Linked DNA regions of Homo sapiens: regions 2 and 3 are each linked to region 1. Evidence: promoter capture Hi-C in 16 types of primary human blood cells and fetal thymus (Javierre and others, 2016). All regions are on one chromosome and are shown on one strand. The core of a region is centred on a gene start or on the middle of the fragment in contact, and the rest is flanking DNA. Distances in the headings are between cores, read along the strand shown.

Evidence for each region. The method cuts DNA at HindIII sites, captures the fragments that hold promoters and counts their contacts. A CHiCAGO score of 5 or more calls a contact.
Region 2: a contact is called between a fragment that was not itself captured here and the fragment with the promoter of FAM186B in region 1, in 1 of 17 cell types (endothelial precursors). The highest score is 6.1, in endothelial precursors.
Region 3: a contact is called between a fragment that was not itself captured here and the fragment with the promoter of FAM186B in region 1, in 1 of 17 cell types (endothelial precursors). The highest score is 7.5, in endothelial precursors.

Annotation. Positions count from the first base shown.
Region 1 is chr12:49,604,287-49,606,986 of GRCh38, reverse strand. FAM186B (family with sequence similarity 186 member B) reads left to right here and starts at 1,348. Exons shown (of 7, transcript NM_032130.3): 1 at 1,348-1,605; 2 at 2,449-2,674. The coding sequence starts at 1,510. The HindIII fragment of the contact is 1,733 bases long and covers 347-2,079 here.
Region 2 is chr12:49,341,044-49,343,809 of GRCh38, reverse strand. No RefSeq gene overlaps it. Among named protein-coding and RNA genes, the nearest start is that of DNAJC22, 4.5 kb to the left of the region's middle. RefSeq lists an enhancer at 729-1,240 and a silencer at 1,442-1,581. The HindIII fragment of the contact is 8,852 bases long and covers 1-2,766 here.
Region 3 is chr12:49,274,164-49,276,863 of GRCh38, reverse strand. TUBA1C (tubulin alpha 1c) reads right to left here. Exons shown (of 4, transcript NM_032704.5): 4 at 2,264-2,700. Among named protein-coding and RNA genes, the nearest start is that of TUBA1C, 10 kb to the right of the region's middle. RefSeq lists a silencer at 2,584-2,700. The HindIII fragment of the contact is 1,071 bases long and covers 817-1,887 here.

The DNA.
Region 1 (2,700 bases), core at 99-2,598:
GGGAATTTTCCAAAGATCTCTCAATTATTGATTTATAGTTTAATACCATAGTGGTCAGAGAACATATTTTGTATTATTTTAGACTTCTTAGGGTAATTGATACTTGTTTTATGGCCCAAATTATGGTTTATATGATCATTGTTCCATATGCGTAGGGAATAATATGTGTCCTGTTGTTGGGTGAAGTGTTCTATGACTGTCAATGGAGTCAAGTTGGTTGATAGTATTTTTCAAAACCTCTATACTTTTTATTTTTTGCTACTTCTATCAACTCCTGCAAGAGAAGTGCTGGAATCTCCAACTATAATTTTGGATTTACCTATTCCTCCTTTCAGTTCTGGAAGCTTTTTACTTCATGTATTTTGAAGCAATGTTATTAGGTATATACACATTTAGAATTATGTTCTCCTTATTAATTGACATCTTTAGCATTATGGGATGTTCCTCCCTCTGTATGTTTGTGTGTGTGTGTGTGTGTGTGTGTGTGTGTGTGTGTGTGTCAGGGTATCTATCACCTAGGCTGGGGTGTAGTGGCGTGAACATGGCTCACTGCAGCCTTGACCTCCTGGGCTCAAGTGATCCTCCCATCTCAACCTCTCAAGTAGTTGGGATCCCAGGCATGCGCCACCATGCCTGGCTATTTTTTAAATTTTTTTGTAGAGCTAGGCTCTCACCATGTTGCCCAGGCTGGTCTCAAACTCCTGGGCTCAAGTGATCCTCCCACCTCAGCCTCCCAAATTGTTGGGATTACAGGCGTGAGCCACTGAGCCTGGCTTCCATTTGGTTATTGATTGGCTCTAATTTTTACAAATTTAAAATATTTTATTCAGGAAAATAACTTTTGCTAATTGCTTTTTCTTATTTGTAGACATTAATGTTTTGTTTGGGAGCATAACATTTAGTAATTTTTAAAAAGCAACAAGTAGGCCGGGCACGGTGGCTCACACCTGTAATCCCAGCACTTTGGGAGGCTAAGGTGGGTGGATCACGAGGTCAGGAGATCGAGACCATCCTCGCTAACACAGTGAAACCCCGTCTTTACTAAAAATACAAAAAATAAATTAGCCAGGCGTGGTGGCACGCACCTGTAATCCCAGCTACTCAGGAGGCTGAGCCAGGAGAATCACTTGAACCCAGGAAGTGGAGGTTGCAGTGACCGAGATCACACCACTGCACTCCAGCCTGGGCTACAGAGGGAGACTCCGTCTCAAAAAAAAAAAAAAAAAAAGAAAAGGCAACAAGTCAAGTAAATATATGTTAGGTAATGGACAAAAAGCTAGATAGTGGGGAGTCTCATCTCCTAATTCTTCTAATCAAACTGATGATGTCACTGGGGAAAAGAGGATCAGTTGGAACCTGGTGTTTGGCAGTTACCAGAGGAGCTGTGCCTGGGCAGAGGGTACCCAGGAGACACCCTGGTGCCCTTAACCTCCAAAGCAGGCAACATTGTGTGTCCAGGCCTGTGGACCAGAAACACAGGATGTTTTGTGACTGACAGAGTGATCCAAAATGGAGAAGGATGACCCCCCACAGTTGGTGACTCCCACATCAGTGAAAGCCATCATCCTGAGGATTGAGGCTGCCCAGCTAACTCGGGCTCAAGAGGTAGCCCCTGAGATGAAGGAATCACTCTTACATTGGGATCTGATGCGGAGACTGGGGGCTGATCCCAGGTTTGAGTGAGATTCCAGCTCTGGGTCCTCAGAGGCCCTGGGATATTCAGCAACCTGGGTCTGCAGACAGATTAGTATAAATTATCTCTCTCCTAAACTTGGCATATACAGGGTGAGCTGAAAGCAACCACCCGCCTGAGGCAGGGCTGGGGCCCGGGAAGGGGGCAGGAAGCTCGAGGATAGCCCTGAGGCACATCGTGGTGGTGTGGTGGGTTTTAGAGGGCAGGAGAAAGGACCCAGAATCTGTTCTTGGCAACCCTCCAGAATCCCCCAAGCTGAGCCCAGGAAGTTCATAGGGGTTGGGGAAATGTCCAAAGGCTCAAATCACCCTGTACACGAGGCTCTAGTACATTTTTTACTTGAGCCTCTGATCCTAGAGTTTCTTGGGGCCTCACTTTTCCAAGCTTCTGTTGCCTGTGGATCCTTGTGAGGAAAGACATCCAGAAACCCCCAGCAACCTCTGAAATTCTAAAGAAATGTTTGCTGTGGGGTTTTGGTGTTCTATACTTTCTTGACCTTCTTAATAATCACAATGATAATAAAAGCTACCACTTTTGTGTAATGTGCCAGGTACTATTAAAAGCACTTTAAAATATTTAATTCATTTAATCCTTACAGAAACCCTGTGACATAGGTACTATAATGATTCCCACTTTAAATATAAGAAAACTGAGACCCAAAGAGGCTAAGCGACTTGTCCAAGGTCACGCTGCTAGCATGTGGCTTCTGGCTCAAGTCCACAGCCCTAACACTACAATCTGCTGCTTCTCTATAGGATATTTCTACCCAGCTCTCAGACATTTTGGACAATGTCAATTGTGTCATCAACCGCTTCCAGGAAGAATTAGGATATGATTTAAAAGAAAATGCCAAATCTCAGCAGAGAGATCCAAAGGGCAAGAAGAGATTCATCTTGCTGGAAAAAATTGCCTCCTTCTCCAAAGATGCTATGATGAAGGAGAAGCACCTGTATGACATTCTCCGCTGGCTGGGTGACTGGGGTGAGTTTGCAGGCTGGGCACCGTGC
Region 2 (2,766 bases), core at 225-2,724, 260 kb after region 1:
ACAGCAACTAGGTGTCCAAACTTTGGCCAAAAAAAAAAAAAAAAAAAAAAAAAAAAAAAAAAAAAAAAAAAATCCACTACTTTCAAAACCCTTGGGGTAGGGATGTTAGTGGTGAAGGTGCTGGAAGGGAGCAGCTGTCCTGACCAGCACTCTCACAGTTAACATCTAGCACCACCCCCACCCCCCACCCCAGCAGCACACCTCAGCTGTCACCGTGCGCACTGCCATTTCCTCCATAACTGGAGACAGAGCTGACAGCCAGCTGGGGGGTAGTGGGGAGACGGACACACAGGGAGGGGTGGTGGCTCATCCTCAGAGGGAATCTCACACCTCCACTGACAAAATCATACTGACACATACCTGGTACTGACACACACAGTCACTGACCTCCCACGTGCGATCCACATTCATCAATCCCTGTCATACACGCCATCTCTGAGTGCACAGTCACGCACAATCTCTCAGAGGTCAGGCCGAATCGCCTAGTCTTGAGACCTGCCTAATACCCTTCCTTGACATCTCAGACCTTAAATCACCTAACCCCAGAAGAGGGCTTAGGTCCCCGCCCTTGCTTCCCAGCCAGGGCCAGCTCCAACAACTGGGAGGCCGAGCTCAAGGAAGTCAAGTCCCAGGGTCAAGGCGAAGGACCGGGAGCAGATGGAGCAGTGGGACTGTTAAACGCTTGCCTTAGTCCCCTCCTGCTACTGGCCTCTTTCCCGGCACGTCCACTCGCAGCCCGCCCGGCCCGCCACCCGCCTGTCAGTCGAGTAATGAATGCGCGCTCGGGGCCACGGGCCCCCCTGGAGTCGTTCATCACTGCCAGCACCGCCCACCCCTCTGCCTCCCGCCGGGAGGGCTAAGCGGCCGGGGCTGTAAGAGCCCCTCACCCCGCATCTTGACCACTAATTGTCAGATTGAGATGTTGATTTGTCAGCTGGGAGCTAGCGCCAAAGAATCTGCAGTAAAACCTGGACTCCTTGAACTCCCTCTCGGCTCCCCTCGGGTTCGCCAGGACTTGGAGCCTTTTTTGAGCGGATGCGGATTGGTTGGATTTCACTGAACGGAGCGGGCATAGAAGCGCAGTGTCATTCAAAGCCGGCAGGAGGCGCGCCAGGCTAGAAACCCTTGGTTTCCCTAGGAGGGGTCGCCCTGGGCCTGGTTCCATCTGTACCTGCCGGACCTCTAAGGCTTGGTTCCCAGCTTCCCAGCAGGGGGCGCCCTGGACCCCGGGCCTCCGGTCTCCGCAGCTTTTGTTCCCTCTTCCCCACTGGGAGGCCCCAAGCCGCTAGCCCCAGTTTCCCTTCGGGGAGTGCCCGGGGCCATAATCCCCCACCCTTCGGCCAATGCCTCAGGCCACAGTCCTCCACTGCCCCGCAGGAGGCGCTCCTGCCGCAGGTCCGCCCTCGCCCTGTCCTGGGCGCCTAGGCTGCAGCCGCACCCCGCCCTCTCCCGGGCCGGGCCCAGGAGCTCCCTGGGCGGCCGGCTGAGTGACGGGCGGCCGGTGATTATGCGGAAGGGGGAGCGGGGTGCGCCGCGGGCGGCAGCGCTGACCCTTCACATTTCCGATCCGCTGGGACCCTCATCCATCCGAAGCTGCTCTTTGTCTGGCCGCCTAATTGCCGGCGGACAGGATGGATGGCGGGACCGACAGCCGCGGAATCCCTAATAAAGGCCGCGGCCGCCGGGGAGGGAGTGCAGGAGGGAGGGGGAGCAAGAGGGAAGGGATGGAAGAAGATGGGAGGAAGCACCGGGCAGCGGTCTCTGGCTCCGAGGCGCTGCGCGCGGCGCTCACTGAAGTCCAGCCCGCCTGGGGTGCTAGTTCGGGGTCCAGGTCCGGGTGCGGTGGGTTGGGGCTCGTTAAGTGTCCTGCTCGTCAGAGAAAAGCTGGGGACCCCAAGCAGAAAGAGCATCCTAGGGCCTTCCTCGCTTAGCCGAGCCCTCGAGACTTGGAGCTTAGCACTACCTCCTGGTCTCGGGGCTCTCATCAGTATGCGCCCCTACCTCAACTTCCCGCACCCCACCCGCCTCCTTTCACCTGTGGGTCTCCCAGACCCGGAGTCAATATCCCAGAGGAGAAATGAGGGGTCTGACAGCTCTCTGTGCAGCCGATCCCCACATTTCATTAACTGGAGGCTGGAGCTGGCAAGCGGTGGAGGCAGAGGGGGGCACAAAGGGAGGTGGAGGAGTCAAAGGCTAGGAGCAGCACCTGGCCAGGGGTGGAGGGCTGCCGAAGTAAGTCAGCAACAGCTCTGACCTGGCAGACACCTTGGAAGCAGTCTTTACCCACTCTCTGAGAAGCCAGGAGCTTGTCTTCAGCCCTGTGGACCCTGGTGCGATACTTTGAACTTAAGGTTGCACTGAGTTTTGGTGCCAGAGGCACTGGCTGATGAGTGGGAGCCCTGGGCCTGGCCGTGATGGCAGAGGCAGGAGGGTAGTCTCTGCAAGGAGGCAAACCATGAGCAGGTTCTTGGGCTGGGACGGTTTTCCCAGCTGCAGTCGGAGAACAGCCGGCTTCAGGCTTCCCTTTTGTCCCTTAAGCAAATTTTCCTTGACTCGCTTCGTTTTCCTTTGCCTTCCTTTTTCTCTGCCCTCTCTTCCTCCATCTGGACGGTTGTTCTCTGAAACTAACTTTGGCCATCCTTTAGCCAACAGTTGAGCACCTGTTGGGCATCATGCTTAACAGTGTCAGGGTGGGGGTTGGGGGATACACGGAGCCAAGACCCAACCCTTTTGGCCTCACATACAAAAGGCTCCCGGAAGCCATTC
Region 3 (2,700 bases), core at 103-2,602, 330 kb after region 1:
AGGTGGACAGGCAGGCCCTTAGCCCCTCAAAGTCATTATCCCCCTTCTCATCCCTGCCCAAAACACCTCTGCCCAGACATGCTAACCTCTCAGTGGTCAGCGGCCTCTGTGGGGGGAAGCAGGTTGCTCCTCTGGCCAGGTTAGGTGAGGGCAGACTAAGCCCTCTGTCCACACAGCCGGACCTGGGGCTGCCGCCAGCCTCAGGAGCCCGAATCCTCTTAGGCTGTGTGCATTTATTCCCATCAAGCTTCAGCGGCCTCAGCATCAGCATCAGTCGCAGCTCTGGGTCCAGACTTTCCATTCGTGCTCAAGGGCAGATCAGATGATTGTCAGCCACAAAGCAGTGACCTAGACCTTGGGGTATATTTGTTCTTGCTGCAGGCTAACTTCTATTCACTCTCCCTCCAACGCAGGAGGGGGAAATCATCTTTACAAGGACAAATGCCCCCCCAACCACTGGCACTTTGCTCTTCCAATTCCCCAGGCTTTATTCTACTGGAATATTTCTTCTCAGCTAAACTTTTCTCTCACCTTCTTTCACCCCAGACCTCTGTGGCTGCTTAAAGCTTTCCAACCTTTTTCACATCTTGGCACATGTAGAAAATAATTCATCTGTAAGGTGTACAGAGGTAAATGGAGGGGGCTACTCCTGGCCAGGGTGACTGGCCCCAGGGAGGATGGGTGAGTCAGGCTCTCCAGTTTCCACCATGTCATTCTAAAAGCCGAAGGGATCCTATATGGGCACCCTGAATCCTATTCTCAGGGCACCCTGCTTGGGAAATGCTGGTGTCATGGGGTGTCACACTCGCCTAAGCTTTGTGATTTATCTGCTCCTTTTCATACACGGGTGTCCCATTCCCATTTCCTCCAGTGCTTGCACTATGGCAATCAGCAGATCTCCTGGCCTGGGAAGGTCTCAAAATCCCCTCTGGCAGGCTAGCCAGCGTCTTCAAGGTTCACCTTCATTTCAGGCATCCCACCCCGCTCCCCTGCCCAGGCTGCAGGAAGAACCTGGCTCATCTGAGAAGTAGCAGTGGCTGAATTTGTGCTGGGGTCTTACCTTGCCCCGAAGGACATAAAACTATGGTTGCTCTCGACAAATGCTATATAAAACCATCCAGAGCACATAGTTGAGGCATCTCAGGCTGCAAAAGCATGCTGTGCTATGCACGCAGGTATAATATATACATTTAAAAAAATTTGAGACATAAAAAAAAATTTAAGGGAAAAAAATTTTTTGTCCCTTAGGCTGGAGGGCAGTGGCACGATCTCAGCTCACTGCTACCTCCACCTCCCAGGCTCAAGCAATCCTCCCACTTCAGCCTCTCAAGCAGCTGGGACCACAGACGTGCACCACCATGCCCAGCTAATTGTTTGTATTTTTAGTAGAGATGGGGTTTCACCATATTGCCCAGGCTGGTCTTGAACTCCTAAGCTCAAGTGATCCACCTGCTTCAGCCTCCCAAAGTGCCGGGATTACAGGCGTGAGCCATGGTACCCGGCCAAAAAAATGCTCAAAATAGACAGGGTCTCACCCTCTTGCCCAGGCACTGGTCTCAGACTCTTGGGTTTAAGCAATCCTCTCACCTTGGCCTCCCAGAGTGCTGGGACTGCAGCTGTGAACCCCAGCGCTGGCCTTAAACATGCACATCTTTCAGATGCAATTCTCAGAGCAAAGGGGCTAAAGTGAGCAATGGGTAAGGGATACAAAACACCTTTGGGAAAGAGATGGTAACTGGGTACACATCAGAATAAAGTAAGTCACGGAGGAGAGGTGAGTATGCCTGCAACTCTGCCCCCAGGGCCCATCTGCTACCACTCATTAGGCATTCCCACTCAGGCAAGCACCCAAGCACCAAAACTGATTCCTCCCTTCTGCATGAAGCTTCACCTTTTGGTCATTGTCCTTTCCCATTGCTTAGTTCAACTGAGTACCAGGCACCAAGCTCTCCAGCTACGTATAACACTCATGCCCCTTCACCCGTCTGCCCCCAAGAACCACGGTCCTCCAACAGGTGCTTGGAAAAAAGTCCAAATCAGAGAACTCACCCCTCTCCAATCTTTCCTACACATACATATTACTCCTACTTCAAATAATCTCCATGACATACAATTGGGTCAAATGCCAATACCAGAAAAACCGGTGACTGTTATTTTGTCTGACATTTCCACTTTCTCTAAACAATAACCCCTTTAGTACGAACCATCTTTGCCACTGTAGGTCTTAGCTAAGTATGGAATAAATCAGGATTCCAAGCCCTTCTCGTGTGACTAATACTTTATTAAAGACTGACAGCAATAGTTCTGGCAGTGTGGCTGGGCACTTGAATTTTGGCTCCAGCAGTTACTGTTATCTAACCCTTTGCTACTGTACATGTGGTCACATCAGACCAACAGCATCATTTGGGAGGTTATTAAAAAACGTATCTAGGGGCCAGGTGTAGTGGCTCACTCCTGTAATCCCAGCACTTTGGGAGGCTGAGGCAGGATTGCCTGAGCCCAGGAGTTCAAGGCCAGCCTAAGCAACATGGCAAAACCCCATCTCTACCAAAAAAAAAAAAAAAAAAAAAAAAAAAAATTACAAGAATCAGCCAGGCATGGTGGAACACACCTGTAGTCCTGGCTACTTGGGAGGCTGAGGTGGGAGGATGGCTTAGCCCAGGTCAAGGTGGGGGTGAGCTATGATGGTGCCATTGCACT